2 separate regions of the Homo sapiens genome follow, and region 1 is linked to region 2. The links are contacts of gene promoters, found by promoter capture Hi-C in human tissues and cell types (Jung and others, 2019). All regions are on one chromosome and are shown on one strand. Each heading gives the region's core, a stretch centred on a gene start or on the middle of the fragment in contact. The rest is flanking DNA. Distances are from core to core; before and after follow the strand shown.

Region 1 (3,456 bases), core at 782-3,281, 1.7 Mb before region 2:
AGATCAGCTCACACCAGGCTGTTAGGATACCCAAGACCTAAGGATCAGCACAGCTGCATCATTACTGGGTGTTGATTGTTTTGGTAGGAGGGACCAAATGGAATATGGGGAAGGCATATCCAGTGCCTAGAAGGGTTTCTGAGTTGATAGAAGTTTCCTGAAAACAAAATAAAATTGAGGAGGGTGAGAGTCACATAGACTCTGAACCTCACACTCGTGAGAAATATTTTAAGATTTTAAACTAGACTCCCCACCACCTCTCCTGCCTATTTCATCGTGAGAAGTGTCTCTTCTCATTGATCTTAGCCAAAGGACCGCAATGTCCTAGGGACACACACAGCCAATTTTGTAGTGATTCTGTTATAAATCCTTCCCCTTTTAAGAGATTTGGATAGAAAAAAATTAAACAACTTTCTGGTCAGGCATTTGTTTGTCAAAGTATCTTGAGTTAAAAGTCTGTTTTCTCAAAACCTCAAGCTGTTCTGCTGAAGAAACAATATGCAACAATATGAAACAACATGCAACAGTATAAAACAATGTGCAACAATATAACATGTGACAATATGAAATAACATGCAACAATATAAAACAGTATGCAACAGTATAACATGCAACAGTATGAAACAATATAAAACAACATGCAACAATATAAGACAATATGAAAACAATATGCAATAATACGAAACAACATGTAACACTATGAAACAACATGCAACAATATGAAACAAAACAATAGAACATGCAACAATATGACACAATATGCAACAATATGAAACAACATGCAACAATATGAAACAATATGAAACAATGTGCAACAATATAACATGTGACAATATGAAATAACATGCAACAATATAAAACAGTATGCAACAGTATAACATGCAACAATATGAAACAAAACAATATAGCATGCAACGATATGAAACAACATGCAGCAATATGAAAACAATATGCAGCACTATGAAACAACGTGCAACACTATGAAACAACATGCAACAATGTAACATGCAAAAATATGAAGCAATATGCAACATATTGTTCAAGCAGCAGAGATGCTGCTGCTGATCTTCCACTGTACATTCCAAAGGACATTTCACCCTATCAAAAAGTCGAAATAAAAAAATGGTAATGCTCTTCACTGTTAATAGTGATATAGTTGTTTGCAAAACTTTCCATTTCAGAAGCAATTACCCCTGTTTCTGCACATCTATCAAAAGATACATTCAAATACTCCTGTTGAAACTCTTTTTTAAGTTGCTTCTGAAGATGTGGTGCAGAGTAAATGGGTTTGTGTCTAGGTGTGTTCATCCAAGGTGTATCTGGTCTTGAAGAACGGAACGATCCGACTTTCAAGCACTCACAGGGACCATTTGAATTCCCCCAGTGAACAGGTGCCTTCTGGTGAGTGAATCTGAGCTCCACAATGTGTGTTTGGGAAACGCTGCTGGTCTGAGAGTGAACTCCAACATGTTTCCATTCCCTGTTCCAAACATGTCGTTCCAACCTGTGGCAAAAGGTGTTGGCTCCAAACCCAAAATCCATCCCTCCCCTCAGAGTAGGTGACCTCATCTATGTCTAGATCAGGGGTTAATCCAGAATACTCTAAGCCAATCATGGTGTCCCTTGCCCCACCAGTGTTTGGTTTAGGGGTAGGCATGTGACCTGCATCTGACCAACGAGATGTGAGAGAAAATGTGCTGGGCGTTCCCTGGAAGAGGTAGAGTCCGAGAAGGAGATGGGACAACGGAAGCAGAGGTGGGAGGGATGTGCTTTGAAGATGGAGGAAGGAGCCATGAGCCAGGGAATGTCAGCCACCTCTAAAGGCTGGAAAAGGAGAAACACAGAACATGGCTGGATCCTGACAGCAGCCCTGGAACTTCAGCCCCATCTGCCAAAGTGAGGGGAGCCAGCCTGAGGACCCAGGGAAGCAGAAAGTTGTGGAGACTTTATTTGGAGCTGCTACACATTAACCTCTTCTGGAGCTTCCACCACTTAGAACATTTTGATTTGTTAGATGCTAAATTTTCCTTGACATTTAGGTATTTGGGGTTGGTTTTTCTGTTATTTGCAGCTGGAAGGATTTTTACTAATCCTCCGCACTGTCTTCCAATATAAAGGCTGGCTGCTAGGAAACCCCCCTTATGCTCCAAATGCTAAGCTCTAACGACCACCTGGTCTTGAGACAATGCAGAAGAAATTCTACCTGGCCAGTTAACAAACTACATATTCTGTCTTTTACCGTACAAATATGGTCTAGATTTGTCTGCCTTCTCACAGTAAGGCTGGCCAAGCCTCTCTCAACCATCAAGCATGATTCATCAGTTTACCTGGACTGGGAGGAAGATGGTGTGGTGGCTAGGAGTGAGGTCTCTGGGACTAAAACCAGCTTGTCCAAATCTCAGCTCTGTTAGGCTGAATAATGGCCCTCAACGATGCCCACATCCTAACCCCCGGAACCTGTGATTATGTGACCTTGCATAGGAAAGGGGACTTTGCAGACATGGTTAAGCTAACACTCTTTACATGGGAGATTATCCTGGATTATCTGGGTGGGCCCAAGTTCCTCACAAGGGCAAGAGAGTCAGAGAAGGAGACAGGATGATAGAAGCAGAGGTGGGAGGGATGTGCTTTGAAGATGGAGGAAGGAGCCATGATCCAGGGAGTGTCAGCTGCCTCCAGAGGCTGGAAACAGAAAGGAAACAGATTCTCTGCCAGAGCCTCCAGAAGGTATGCAGCCTTGTCCACCCCTTGACTTTAAACCTCTGACCTCCAGAACTGAAAAAGAATAAATGTATGGTTTTTTAAGCCACTAAGTTTATGCAACAACAGGAAACCAATACACCAGATCCAACACTCACCGTCTGTGGGGACCTTGAGACAGTTGCCTAACACACTTGAACTTCAGGTTCCCCTCTGTGAAATGGGCATAGTGATAATAACTCACAGGTTCGTTACAATGCTTTGACATTTTAACGCAAGCAAGGTCCTAAGAAGAGTTCCTGGTTGATAAGGTTTGCATGTGTGTTCCCACCCAAATCTCATGTTAAAATGTAATCCCCAGTGTTGAGGTGGGGCCTGGTGGGAGGTGATTGGATCATGGAGGCAGAGTTCTCATGAATGGTTCAGCACCAGCCCCCTTGGTATTTTCCTTGCAATAGTGAGTGAGTTCTCACAAGATCTGGCCGTTTAAAAGTGTGAGGTACCTCCCCACTCACGCTCTTGCTCCTGCCTTCCCCATGTGATGTGCCTGCTCCCACTTCGCCTTCTGCCATGATTGGAAGCTTCCTGAGGCCTCCTCAGAAGCCGAGCAGGTGTCAGTACCATGCTTCTTGTACAGCCTGCAAAAATATGAGCCAATTAACCTTCTTTTCTTTATAAATTACCCAGTCTCAGGTATCTATAGCAAATGCAAAAACAGACGAATACAATGGTACATACTAAGTAAGTGCTCAACGG
Region 2 (3,686 bases), core at 1,074-3,573:
CTAATAAAGAAATCAGTAACAGACCTATGTACCTAAGTGAAAAAACACAATAGTGAGGTCCTATTTCCAAAGCTATTCTGTACCTTTCTTAATACAACCTTGTTATTGCAGCATAAACACAAAGAAGTCTGGACCTATTATAAAACCAAGTGAGAACCAACCCCCCCCGCCCCAAAAAAAAAATGCTGGGCTGTTGTTGCTGTGGATTTTGGTTTTTTTAACCTCACGTCTGCCTGAGTCAGGTTCACTGAATTCATCAACCTTTTCTTTGGTTTCCTGTGCACATTATAAATCCAGAAGGCTCTGATCCCAGGGATTGTTCTAACTCATAATTAGGAAACGTGAGCCCATTTCAACCACACTTCAAAGACAGGGAAGGAGGGGGAACGTAAATTCCTCTTTCTAAATCGAACCATCACAGAACTCGGCATTTCAACTGTCTTCATCTATTATCAGATCCAAAGCAACATAACCTCAGTGATTCTGGAAGAACTCAGAGAACAGACAATTCATGTAATTAAAAGACTTTGTGCGTGATAATTGGCTTTGAAGTTTCTGAGAGAGATCTCATCTCAAAAATCTTTGCAGAAAAATATGGGTACAGGGTTCTTGCAGCACGTATTAGAGACTGCTGAGACGCTTCACTCTCCTCCCAGTGTATCTATCTGCAGGAAAGGGGCACGGGTGGGGGAACCACACACAAGCAGCCCAGGTCAATCATGAGAAAGAATCTCCCGCACAAATCACACCATTTCTCTTCAAGGAAGAATGACTGTCCAGAGCTTCCAAACTTGCTCTTCCCATGACAGACAGGGATGCTGGCAGAAGAGAAGAGGAAACATTGAGGAATTCCTGCCTTGACACATGGCTTCAAGTCAGGGCTCCGCTGGGAAAATTCGGGTCACAACTTGTAGCTGAAACTCCACGTGCACCCTGCGGGGCCGCTGCTGCTCCCAGCACCCTACGGAAGGGTGAGCGCCAGACCCTGTGCCCAAACCTCACAGCGGCAGACCTGGAGAAACCCATCCCCCTTCTTCAGAGCCGCCCCCCAGGCTATATTTTTGGCAGCCTATAATACACAAAATAGTATTCCCATACAACAGGAGTGCTCCAAAATTATTTCCAAATAGGTCAGTGCCACCAGGGAAAGTCAATCCCAAATTCCAGAAATCTCCCTGGTCATCTCAATCCCCTCCTCCCCCGACAGCCGGCTCGGCCCTCCAGAGGCCACCTTTCCTCTCAAGGGTCCCCACGCCCTCTCCCTTTACAGAAAAGGCTTTCAGGAAACAGCCTTCCTTTCCTTTCGGCTCCTTAGTAGTCTCACCTAAGGCCTCCCACCCAAGTGCTCCAGGACAAGCACCTTCGGCCAAGGGGCGTCCGAGGAGCTTGGCTGCCGCACGAGCGCACGTTCACACGCGCGCACACACACATGCACACAAGCGCGCACACACACTTGCACACGAGCCCTCTCTCCCGGCCGCCCCCATCCTCCACACACTCCCACACACTCACTCCAGGCGAAGTTAGTCCCCGGGCCCTGGCGGCCGCGGCGTCCTCACCTTTGGAAAACAGGGCGGCCAGGCTGATGAGTACCGGCGACCAGTGGTGCCACAGCGTCCCCATCTCAGACGGGCACATCCTGGAGACCCGGAGCGCAGATCCTCCGCTCCCCGGCGCCGTCCAGGCGAACAAGAGACCGTCTCAGTCCCCTAGAGGCCCGCAGCGGGGCCGGTGGCGAGGGAGCGCCCGGCTAGGGGCCCGAGCAGCCCGGGCGCCCTGCTCCCTCTTCCCGCCAGTCCATGGCCAGGCCGGGAGGCGACGACCGCGCGGGCTCCTGAGTTGCTCTCCGGAGTCCAACACGCGCGCAGGCAAACCCCACCTCCCTCCTTCGACCCCAACAGAATTTTTTTTAAATTTTAATCCACAGGGGGTATTTCCTTTCCTGTTTACCCGAGCGAAGAGTGGCCCCCGGTGGCCCAAGGAGGGGCGCCTCCAGGCGCAGGGCTCCGGCGGCTCCAGCTGCTCCCGGGCTGGCTAGCGGGCGCTGGCGCAGGCGGCGCCGGGGTGGCGGGGCTGCGGAGCCCGGGACGCGGGCAGAGGCGGCTCGGAGCCCCCCGGGCGGGTGGCCGGGCTCGCTGGGCGGCCCGGGGCTCCCTGGCCCGCAGCCCCCATCCCAGGCCGGCCGCTGCGCCTCGGGGCTCGGGCGCGCGCGCGCTCCGGCACCCAAAGTTTGGCGGGTGCGGCTGCTCCCCGGCCGCCGCCTCGGCCCGCCCGGCCCCGGGCCCGGCTGGGGCTCGCGGGGCTCTACGCGCGCCGAGCGCACTGCAGGCTCCGGAGACGCGGGGCTCCCCCCTGCGCCCGGGGGAGGCGGGCCAGATGTGCGCGGAGGAGGGCCCGCCGGCTCGGGGACGCGGCCGAGCAACGCAGCTGCCTCCTGCCAGCAGGCGCGGGGGCTCCGCTCCGCAAGGACCGCATCCGGAACGGAACGGAGGCGATCGCCACGGTGCCCGGAGCCGGCTGGGGCTTTCGCCTTAAAAATTTGTCTGCTTTTAAAAAGCCCCACCCTTTCGGAGTGACAGCTGTGAGCCCCAATCCGCAAAGTAAATCCCACCTCCCCCTGGCCGCCCCACGCCCAGCCTCCCGGCCACCCTCCCTGCGAGCGCGGACGCGCGGTGGCGGCGGGCGAGGGCTCCCAGCGCGGGCGCACCCCGGGGACGGAGCCACCCACTCTCCCAACAGGTGTCCAGCTGGCCACCGGCCTCTCGTCGTCATCAAAACCTCAGGCCCAGGGGAGGTCCTCCAGCCCGGGGGCACCTGAGGCTCTTCGCCAGGGAGAGCGCAAGGATGGCTGGAGAAGGGCCCTCGCCCCGCCCTGCGCATCTCCCAGGGATCGCAGTGAGGAAGTCTCTGACACGCCACACTGAGGTCATGCTGGCCCCAAGCCCCTTCCCAGAGCGATCCCCCAAGTTAGTGTCCCTAGAAACATGTCGTGTGCTCCCCAGGGCTCACTGGGAAAGGAAATGGATCCATTAGGAGACAACATTGCTTTGAGAAGATAAAAGACATGATTCTCAACACCGCCCGGAATCTCCAACTAAGACATTCCCACACCAAGATCCCTAAGCACCGTCCTGTAATTTGTAGCCCAAGAACTGCTTTGCTCCACGAGAGCCTTTAAATTAACCCCATCAAAGCTCAGAGGGAAGAAAAGCATTCAGAATTTTTAAGGAATATTGTAAACCAACAAGCCCTGAATCTAATGAGGTGAATTCACCTCAGTAGATAAAAATGGGTCGTTATCATCTGACTGAGGGGGCAATGGACTTTTTTATCCTGTATGCCTGTAGTTGCAGAAATATACCAATGCTTTAAGAGTTTTTAGCTTTCAAAGTTTCAAGGAAGATCAAAAAAGCCACTGCTGTTCTACCGAAGATTGTTTTTCTGGGTTCATGTCCTTTGAGATGTGCTCTTGTCTTTTATTCTGTATCTACTTATCTGAATATATCTGTCTTTCTGTTTTTTCTTTTGTTTGTTTCTTAAACTTGTTGCCTTTTCTCTTTGTATTGCTCTCCTGTAAAATTCCTAAGAGTCGACGCTGCAAAGACCCTAAGAGATTGTCTCTTTCACTGTTTCTGAAGTTTGAACCAGCAGGAGAGTCACTGGAAAATTTGTTAGACCTGGGTTGC

Evidence for each region. The method cuts DNA at HindIII sites, captures the fragments that hold promoters and counts their contacts. A contact is called where the count stands out against the background at its distance.
Region 1: a contact is called between a fragment that was not itself captured here and the fragment with the promoter of TMEM132D in region 2, in 1 of the 25 tissues and cell types used here (lymphoblastoid cells).

What each region holds. Positions count from the first base shown.
Region 1 is chr12:128,213,348-128,216,803 of GRCh38, forward strand. No RefSeq gene overlaps it. Among named protein-coding and RNA genes, the nearest start is that of TMEM132C, 52 kb to the right of the region's middle. The HindIII fragment of the contact is 6,040 bases long and covers 1-3,456 here.
Region 2 is chr12:129,901,702-129,905,387 of GRCh38, forward strand. TMEM132D (transmembrane protein 132D) reads right to left here and starts at 2,324. Exons shown (of 9, transcript NM_133448.3): 1 at 1,560-2,324. The coding sequence starts at 1,638. The HindIII fragment of the contact is 10,076 bases long and covers 1-3,686 here.